2 separate regions of the Homo sapiens genome follow, and region 1 is linked to region 2. The links are contacts of gene promoters, found by promoter capture Hi-C in human tissues and cell types (Jung and others, 2019). All regions are on one chromosome and are shown on one strand. The core of a region is centred on a gene start or on the middle of the fragment in contact, and the rest is flanking DNA. Distances in the headings are between cores, read along the strand shown.

What was found. The method cuts DNA at HindIII sites, captures the fragments that hold promoters and counts their contacts. A contact is called where the count stands out against the background at its distance.
Region 1: a fragment that was not itself captured here is called in contact with the fragment with the promoter of ATP1B3 in region 2 in 1 of the 25 tissues and cell types used here (hippocampus).

What each region holds. Positions count from the first base shown.
Region 1 is chr3:141,370,155-141,374,900 of GRCh38, reverse strand. All of the region lies in intron 2 of ZBTB38 (zinc finger and BTB domain containing 38), which reads right to left. Among named protein-coding and RNA genes, the nearest start is that of ZBTB38, 4.0 kb to the right of the region's middle. RefSeq lists enhancers at 294-887, 1,944-1,993. The HindIII fragment of the contact is 3,328 bases long and covers 1-3,187 here.
Region 2 is chr3:141,873,650-141,878,469 of GRCh38, reverse strand. It overlaps ATP1B3 (ATPase Na+/K+ transporting subunit beta 3), which reads right to left and starts at 1,827. Exons shown (of 7, transcript NM_001679.4): 1 at 1,560-1,827. The coding sequence starts at 1,668. RefSeq lists silencers at 1,033-1,602, 1,873-2,002, 2,873-2,932. The HindIII fragment of the contact is 8,321 bases long and covers 1-4,820 here.

The sequences.
Region 1 (4,746 bases), core at 274-2,773, 500 kb after region 2:
TTTTGAAATAGACATTCGTACCTTTCTAGGGGCCAATTCACCAATATGCATTAGAAACTTTAAAAATAGTAGAACACTAAAGTGAATCAAAATGTCCAACAACAAAAAACTGATACATTAAAATGTATCAGTGCAATGGAAATAGAGCCATTAAAAATCATGTTTTCAAAGACCATCTAGTGATTTGGTAAAATGTTTACAACATAATGTTAAATGGGGGCAAAACACCACATAAAATACCATCTCAACAATTTTTAACATTTTGATGTATTTTTTCCAATTTTTTTCTTGTATATATTCTTCTCTCTTTTTAAAAAGGAGAGAATGGGGTGGGGTTGGGGTGAGGGGTTATACTAATGCTCTTTTGGACAAAGATGAGGGGTCCACTCTCTCCACTCTGGCTTGGAAGGCACTACCCAAGGTCAATGCCTCCGTGGAGGAGTTTCCAAGCCTCCTTATCCCAATGCACTGGGAGCCCCATAGAATGCCAGGAATCATCTTCTTTTGGCAGAGAGATGACTCATCCATCATTCCTCAAAGGTTTCAGTGAACCCCAGGTTAAATGTCCCTGTGAATAAGATCAGAAGCCTCTCCATGGGGAGTCTGGCCTACAATCAAACATGCTTTGGCTAGTTAGAAGTGATGCTAAGGCTCCCAGATGAAAGTCAATTTAGAAAGACAAAAAAATCTTTAAAATAATGATAATAACAATATCAAAAGTCAAAGCACCAATACTGACCATAATTATGATGATTATTTTTTATCAACACTTTTTTTTTTTTTTCCTCTGTTGCCTAGGCTGGAGTACAGTGGCCCAGTCGTGGCTCACCACAACCTCCGCCTCCTGGGTTCAACCAATTCTCATACCTCAGCCTCCCAAGAAGCTGGGATTACAGGCATGTGCCACCAAGCCCAGCTAATTTTTGTATTTTTAGTAGAGGCAGGGCTTCACGATTTTGGCTGGGCTGGTCTTGAACTCCTGGCCTCAAGCAATCTGCGCACCTCAGCCTCCCAAAGTGCTGGGATTTCCGGTGTGAGCCACCACTCCCGGCCTTTATCAGCAGTTTACCTTGACATGCACTTTTCTAAGTTGCCCATATCATTTTGCATATATCACCTACTTATTCTGACAGAGTCTCAGCATTACATTTTCTAACAATACTATTTTGGAGGTAGGAGGGAGCTTTAAAGTTCTGATGAAAACCAGAAGCTTCTTGAGTTAAAAACAAAACCCTGAAGTGTGGTATTTTCCAACTTGGTTCTTGACAAGAAATTAGGGGATTTCAGTGTGAGAAATTATAAAGCCCTATTACTATGAATTCTTAGTTTTGGTGAATATGATGTGGTATTTCTGCAAAACTCTCTAAGGAGAGTGACAGAACATTCATGATGCTGACCCATGGGGAGAAAGGAGCTTGCACACCTGTGCTATGACAATTCTAAAACCTCAGGGATTAAAATACTCAACTAGTGTAAGAGCTGCCTGTGTGAGACTGTGTGCTCAGTCCACATCTGCTCATCATGGCTCAACAAGGCCAGGCTCAGATCTTTAGATGACCTAAGCTCTGAAAAGACTATAGTGCCTCAAATTTGAATTATTACTCCCATGTGAAATTAAAATAGAAAAAAATAACAAAATACAAAATTAAGGTTGAGAAAGCTCAACAAAGTCTAACTTTTCCCAGGCTGTCTCCTTTGATGCTTTTTTTGAAATGTCAAATATCAAAATATTTACAAAATGTGTGTTTGTACACAATCCTGCTTTGCTGATGTTGTCTGTGAGGTCACTCAGCATCCAGTGGTCACAGGGATCTATGGCTTTCTTTCAAACACAAAGTGTTGACAGTAGTGAAATTCTGGTACCTGATGTGGTGGTCTTACTCCCCTTCCTGTAGTAATATGCAGCTAGAAATTAGAAATCAGGAGGCTGGCCCCCTCCCCCAACCCTAACACCATTCATATGTCAACTACTGCATACTTAGTGCTTTGAGGAGTCATAACAGATGGTAGTTGAAATTAGCAAGCTGTGATTAGCCATTCTCCCACATGAATGGACCCTGATGTTGACTGAGACCTTTGGCTCTGCCCTTCCTGAAAGACTCTGTTAGGCTAGGACTTCCAGCAACACATCATCCCCATTTGGCTCCAGCTTTTGAAATCTGGCACATATTCTTAACTTATTCCTTCAACTGCACCCTTCTAGCAGGCACTGTATTCCCCATTCACCTGGTCTTTTTTTTTTTTTTTGGAGATGGAGTTTCTCTCTTGTTGCCCAGGCCGGAGTCCTGTGGTGTGATCTCGGTTCACTGCAACCTCTGCCTCCCAGGTTCAAGCAATTCCCCTGCCTCAGCCTCCCAAGTAGCTGGGATTATAGGTGTGCGCCACCCTGCTCGGCTAATTTTGTATTTTTTTTTAGTAGAGATGGGGTTTCACCATGTTGGTCAGGCTGGTCTTGAACTCCTGACCTCAAGTGATCCACCTGCCTCGGCCTCCCAAAGTGCAGGGATTATAGGCATGAGCCACCATGCCCAGCCCAACCTGGTCTTATCATTAGCTTATACCACTAGCCCAGCCAGCTCCCCGATCAATAGACACTTTCAGTTCCTAACAACTTGGAAAGACAGACTTTCAGAGGCTGAAGTATTTTTGCAGCAACTCATCTTGTTATTCTATTCCATTCCTCCTCAGCTCCATCCTAATGTAAGGGGACTGGGCAGAGGCTAGGCAGCCATAACAGGAGAGTAGGCCAGGCATCAGCCTCTGTCAGATATCTGAGAAGCTGTGGCAAATTGGCCAGTAACAGGTATCCCCACACAACAGACAATACATGCTCTTCAGGGTGTGGATGTGGGTGCCAGAAAGGTCAAGTCCAGGGGCAAAAGTCAATCAGAAACCAGAGTGTTTAGTCAGATATTGACAAAACTAGAGAACTAGGTACCAGGCACCTCAGGCAAAGACTTGAGTTCATTTTTATTTCACACCTTTAAGTCTGGGGCATCACAAGGCACCCATCATATGGTTTATATTTACGAATGAGGGGAATACTTCACCAACATCAACAATGGTTAGAAGGTTACATAAAATGTTAAACTTATTAAAAGTTCTCCAAACAGAGCTTACAACTTTACCACTTATTATTTCAGTAAATGTTTTGAAACTTTTCCTGAAAATAAAAAGCTAGACATATATATCACATCTTTTGGGGTAGCATTAATAGCCCCAGCCTGAGACTTTTTAGTCTACTTTTAAATGTTTCTCGGCTGGGCCCGGTGGCTCATGCCTGTTATCCTAGCACTTTGGGAGGCCAAGGTGGGTGGTGGATTGCTTGAGCCCAGGAGTTCAAGACCAGCCTGGGCAACATGGTGAAACCTTGTTTCTACAAAAAATACAAAAATTAGCCAGGCATGGTGACACATGCCTGTAGTCTCAGCTACTTGGGAGGATCGCTTGAGCCTGAGAAGTTGAGGCTGCAGTGAGCCATGATCGTGCCACTGCACTCCAGCCTGGGTGACAGAGTGAAACCCTGTCTCAAAGAAAAAAAAAGTTTCTCGGCTGGGCGCTATGGCTCATGTCTGTAATCTCAGCACTTTGGCAGGCCAAGGCCGGCAGATCACGAGGTCAAGAGATGGAGACCATCCTGGCCAACATGGTGAAACCCCATCTCTACTAAAAATACAAAAATTAGCTGGGTGTGGTGGTGCGTGCCTGCAGTCCCAGCTACTCAGGAGGCTGAGGCAGTAGAATCACTTGAACCTGGGAGGCAGAGGTTGCAGTGAACTGAGATCATGCCGATGCACTCCAGCCTGGCAACAGAGTGAGACTCTGCCTCAAAAAAAAAAAAAAAAAAAAAAAAAAGAAAGAAAGAAAAGAAAAGAAAAAACAGTTTAATAACTTGGTTTAAAGGTCTAACCTTCGGGAATTTTCACCCTGATCAAATGTCCCAAGACCTGGAGCAGATCCTGTAGGATACATTTCCAAAGCCTCCAGTAGCAGAGAAAACTACGAGCTAAGGAAGTCAAGAGCTTTCCTATAGACCACTGGGGCTCATAGTTGGGGGAGCAGAATTCTGTCACAATTCCAACTAATATGACTAGATCCAGGAAGAAGAGAAAGCCAGTATAGTCCTAGACCAAGAGGATCCTGAGAGGAAAAATAAGTAAAAGGAAATAAGGAAAATGTCCTTCATGGTTCACTGGCCATGGGCAACATGATGCTTAGGGTCATAATGGACAGAGGTGTTGAGAAATCTCATCCATTGCATCTTGCCCTCATGGCCAGATGTTACCTAAGAGTGTCAGTCAGGAAAACCTAAATGTGGATAATTGTTTACTTCTCCCACTGTTTCTATGCAACTTTATCCTTGAGTATCTCCAAGTTTCTTTTATGTGCTGTGCCAGAGAGAACTACCTCTTCTTCAGAAACCCCTCCAGAGCTGTCACTGCTAAGTGGCTGCTCCACCAAGGACTACATTTCCCAGACTCCTCTGTGGTTAGCTGTGGTCATGTGATGGAGTTTTAGCCAATGGAATGTGAGTAGAAGTAACACGCACCACTTCTAGGCAGAGCCCATAAAAAACTCCCATGTGCACTTTTTCATGCTCTTTTCTTACTGCACTGAGGAGTGGAGACACCCCTAGGCGACCTTGAAAACCACATGCTGCAGAAGGCAAAGCCCCTCTCTACCTGTGTCTCTGAATGAATGCATGAAAGACAGTTGCCCCACTGACCTGTACTGTTACATGAGCAA
Region 2 (4,820 bases), core at 578-3,077:
CAAAATTAATCTCTCTCCACCACTCAAAAATTTCTTCAGCAAAAAGTTAGTACACTCTAGAAACAAGCAATTAAGCTTTATAAATGTTCATCTTTTGTTCCCATGTAAGTCTGGATGCAAGATTTATTTCTTCATCACACTAGTGGGTTCCCAAAAGAAAACAGCAATTTAAATAAAAATCATGAGTGATTACCATGCAGTTAGGCAAGGCATCTGTAAAATAATACAACCGCTGGACTAGGATTAAAGGAGAACTGGGTTCTTTTCTTGGCTTTGTGGCATATGTAATTTTACACAAGGCAAAAATCACAACCTCTCTGGGTCTCATTTTTCTCATCTCTAAAGTGGGGGTTGGGCTAAAAATCCTCCAAGGCCCCTTTCAGCTTGTGATAAGACTTCAAGTCGCCTTTTCACCCTGAAGGAGTCCATTTCAGTCTGCACCAACAGTTTATTTTCTGAGTCACAGCTTATTTCTCCATGCTTATCCTAAAAATGTTGTGCCCAAATAGTTCTAAGCTCTCGAGATTTATTCCCACTCAGAAAGAAATGGTCTTTCAAGACCCACTAACAAAATGTTTCAAAAGGATTTAAAAAGGTAAAATTAGTTTACTTAAGTATAAAGGCAAAAAAAAAAAAAAGCTCTAGCCTGCATTCAGAGATTGATACAATTTTAGGAAAAAAAGGCATCCTAAAGCTACTCTACACGGTAGATGGTTTAAATATATTAAAACAAAGAGCTCACGCATAGAAAAAATCTGCTAACATACAACCATCACTCTCCTGTTTTGAAGACACGGGAAAAAAAAAAAAAACCTGTGTTGTTCAGACAGGATTTACTTTCCCCAAAGAAGCAAATTTGTAAGGAAGAAAACCTCTGTAATTAAAAAGGAATCCGGGAGGAACCAACCTTTTTAAGGGCCTTTTCACTGTCCAAATTCAAGTGCATTTTCTTGTACAATGTACTTCTGTGATTAACTCACCGCTACACGTTTAAGCAACCCACACCCACACTTAACACTCAGTCGCACTCTTCCGACCGGTCGGGGTGGCAGCGTGGACGAGTCACAAGATAGCGGCGGGAGTGGAAATTTCCTCTCCCCTGGAGTGGGGCAGGGTCTGGCTTCTCCGAACCGCTCAGCGGGCCGGGCGCCTCCGCCAGGGCCTCTCGGGCCGGAGCGCTCCGTACAAAGGAGGCCCGGGGGCTCGGCTCCTGCACTCTCGGGGCCCGGCTTCGGGCAGGGGTCCCCGGCTTCCGGCGCCGCGCCGGGCGGGAGGCCCGGGCAGCACGTGCGCCCCGCTCCCAGCAGGGAGGGAGGAACCAGCGCGGCCCGGCCGGGCTGCCCGCGGGCCCCGCTGCTTCGGGAGCGAGCTGCGGCCAGTCCGGCCGGCCCGGGGAGCAATGAATGGGGCCGCACTGCGCCGCCGCCGCCCGGGTTAGGGTCGGGCGGTCGGGAGCCCCGGCGCTGGGAGCCGCCTCCCGCCTTTCCGTTCCCACCAGACCGCGCCCGGCGCCCCCGGGACCGAGGCCGGCCCCGGACGCCCAGCTGCTGCCCGCTCACCCCAGCTCTTGGCGGTGCGCCCCAGGAATTCTCCGGTGGTCGGGTTGTAGATGAAGAGCTTCCACTCGGCCAGGCTCTGGTTGAGGGACTTCTTCTCGTTCTTCGTCATGGTGTGCGCGCGGACGGCGAGAGGAGCTGCGGCCGCGGGGATGGAGGCGGCGAGGGCTGCGGAGGCGCGTCCCGGCTCCGGCGGCGCAGCCCGGAGACGGCAGTGAAGGGTGGGACGGCCGAGAACACCTCCTCGTTACGGGGAGTACTCGAGCCGACTGCGCCGCGCCGCGCCGGGCGGCCGCTTGGGCCGCGGGAGCCTGACGTCTCCGCCCGCCGCAGCCAATCCCCGCGCCGCTCGGCCCGCGCCGCTGCCGCCTCCCGCCAGCGGCCGGGGCGCTGCCTGAGGCGGCGAGGGCGCCCCACCCCGCCCCGGCCCCGCCCCGCAGTAGCCTCGGGGGCTCCCTCAGCCTGGGTCAGAGGAAGCGAGAAGAAAGTCTAAAAATCCGAAGGTTTAGTCGCACGCACGTTTATAATAATAGCAAAAGGCGGGCGTCCCCGCGCCGCAGGTTGCTTAGGAGGAGGACTGGGTTTCCTGGGCGTTCCTGGGCGCCGGGGCGCTGAGAAGATGCTACCCGCGGCGGGCGGGTGCGGAGAGCACGAAAACGACTCCAGTCGGCCCGCGGCTTCCTCTCTGAGGGAACTTAATCGTCCCCTCCCCGAACTGCCTCCCCGACCGTCCCCAGGCGTTCTCTGGGCTCTGTGACGTTCCTACAGGACGCTCTCTGGGCTCTGTGACGTTCCTACAGGACGCTCTCTGGGCTCTGTGACGTTCCTACAGGACGCTCTCTGGGCTCTGTGACGTTCCTACAGGACGCTCTGCGGGGGATCGCGCGGGGCTCCCACAATGTACACGGTGCACTGCTGTTCTGAGAACGTCCTCGCTTGGCTCCCTTGAAGGGTTCAACCGGGAGCCTCGGGTCAATGGGAATTCCGTTCTAAATATGCCAGTGAATGGAGTATAATTTTTCTCGGGATTCAGTTGAATTTATCAATGAAATCTAAATACGTGCTTTCCCAAGGGTCCTGGCAACTGAAAGCTCCCAGCTTTTGCCCAGACGCTCCTACTCTTAACCCACAGGAAAGGAACACTCGTTGGAGGGTCCACGCCTGTGTAGTGTCGCCGGCTTTTCATCTCCCCTGTAGAGATCGCGGCCCTTGGGCGGAGCTGAGGGTGCCGGTAGCGTTTTCCTCCGCGAGATGGAGCTGACGAGTACGGGAGGGGGGGTGCCCTCAGACTCAGCGACAGGATAAAAGACTTTATAGGAATTTGCACAGAAGGTGCGGGGTGGGGGAGGTTGTTGTTGTTGTTGTTTATTTATTTATTTTTAGAAAAAAGCTCTGCCTCCGTTTTATTAGCAAATAAAAATTATGGAGAAATGTAATAGCCATCTTATTGTTTGGAGTGATGAATTATAATCTGTCTGGAAGTTTAAACAGCCTGCAAATGGATGAATTTTCCTTTTTCCTCACTTTTCTTACCAAAGCAAGAAATAATGAATTATACCTCCCACAAATGGAAAAGTGGTAAAATATATTCCTATAAAGTGCTTTTTTCACGCTTAAAAAAGCTAAATTTATAATTATGACATTGAAAATAACCAAAATCCATTTACGTTTTGAGCTAATGACACCAAAAGATTTGTAGAAGCATGTTGGAGAGTTTGGCATGAAATGAGTATTAGAAATAGCAAAGCACCATGCAAGCAGACTGGAATGCACTTCTTTAAATCATAGGCAAGATTGAAAGAACTAAAGAATGTTACCTGCCGGGCGCGGTGGCTCACGCCTATAATCCCAGCACTTTGGGAGGCCGAGGCAGGCGGATCAGGAGGTCAGGATCGAGACCATCCTGGCTAACGCGGTGAAACCCCGTCTCTACTAAAAATACAAAAAAATTAGCCGGGCGTGGTAGCGGGCGCCTGTAGTCCCGGCTGCTCGGGAGGCTGAGGCAGGAGAATGGGGTGAACCCAGGAAGCGGAGCTTGCAGTGAGCCGAGATCCCGCCACTGTACTCCAGCCTGGGCGACAGAGCAAGACTCCGTCTCAAAAAAAAAAAAAAAAAAAAAAAAAAAAAAAAAAAAGAATGGAAGTAGTTAACTATTTTCAACTCATTACAAATATAACTACAGGTTAGAGGAAACCTAAAATACTGGTAGAGTTGATAACAGGCTTTTTCATTTAGGTAAGAAAGAAAGATATTTAGAATGAAACAAAACCTGTCCGCTTCATTTACATTGTGTGTGTGCATGTATGTGTGTGTGCGCTAATAATAAGCGTGCTTTGATAACTAATCACCTGGCACACAAAGAAAACGTGGTAAACAAGAATATTATGAAATAGTGTTTCAAAGATATTGGCTGCTGTCAAGGATTTGTAGTTTGTGTATGTGTGTGTGTATATATATATATATATATATATATATTTTTTTTTTTTTTTTTTTTTTTTTTTTTTTTTGAGATGGAGTCTTGCTCTTGTCGCCCAGGTTGGAGTACAGTGGCTCGGATCTTGGCTCACTGCAACCTCTGCCTCCCGGGTTCAAGCAATTCTCCTGCTTCACCCTTCCAAGTAGCTGGGATTACAGACGCACGCCACCACGCCCAGCTAATTTTTTTATTTTTCAGTAGAGATGGGGTTTCACCATGTTGGCCAGGCTGGTCTCGAACTCCTGACCTCAGGTGATCCGCCCGCCTCAGCCTTCCAAAGTGATGGGATTACAGGCATGAGCCACCACGCCCAGCCTGTTAGTTTGTATATGTTTAATGGTCATTAATATGACTTTCATATTTAGTGCTTTGTGGTTTTCCAAATAAGGATTTAAATACAAATATATAATTCAGTAAGCAGTTTTGAAACACATGACTAGTTCAGTATAGTAACTAGGTCCAACAGATTTCAGTTTGGTGAAATTTTTACATTCTACTCCAAAACATGGAAGCTATTTGTTTCTCTGATATATGGTAACTTGAGCATTACCTGGAAGAGAAAATCCTGTGTGTACTGGGAACCACTGGTCTACCAAGTATGAGCAGATAACATTTAATTACAGTTACATTCTCTGTCAGTTTATTTTACTCTAAGTTTCTCCTTTGAAGGAGAAGTTACTTCGCTAGAGAAAATACAGAATGCCTACCTAAATTTAAGTCCAGATGGATGATGGATTTTTTTTGGTATACATTCCATGCAATATCTGGGACATAGCTACTCCCCCAAA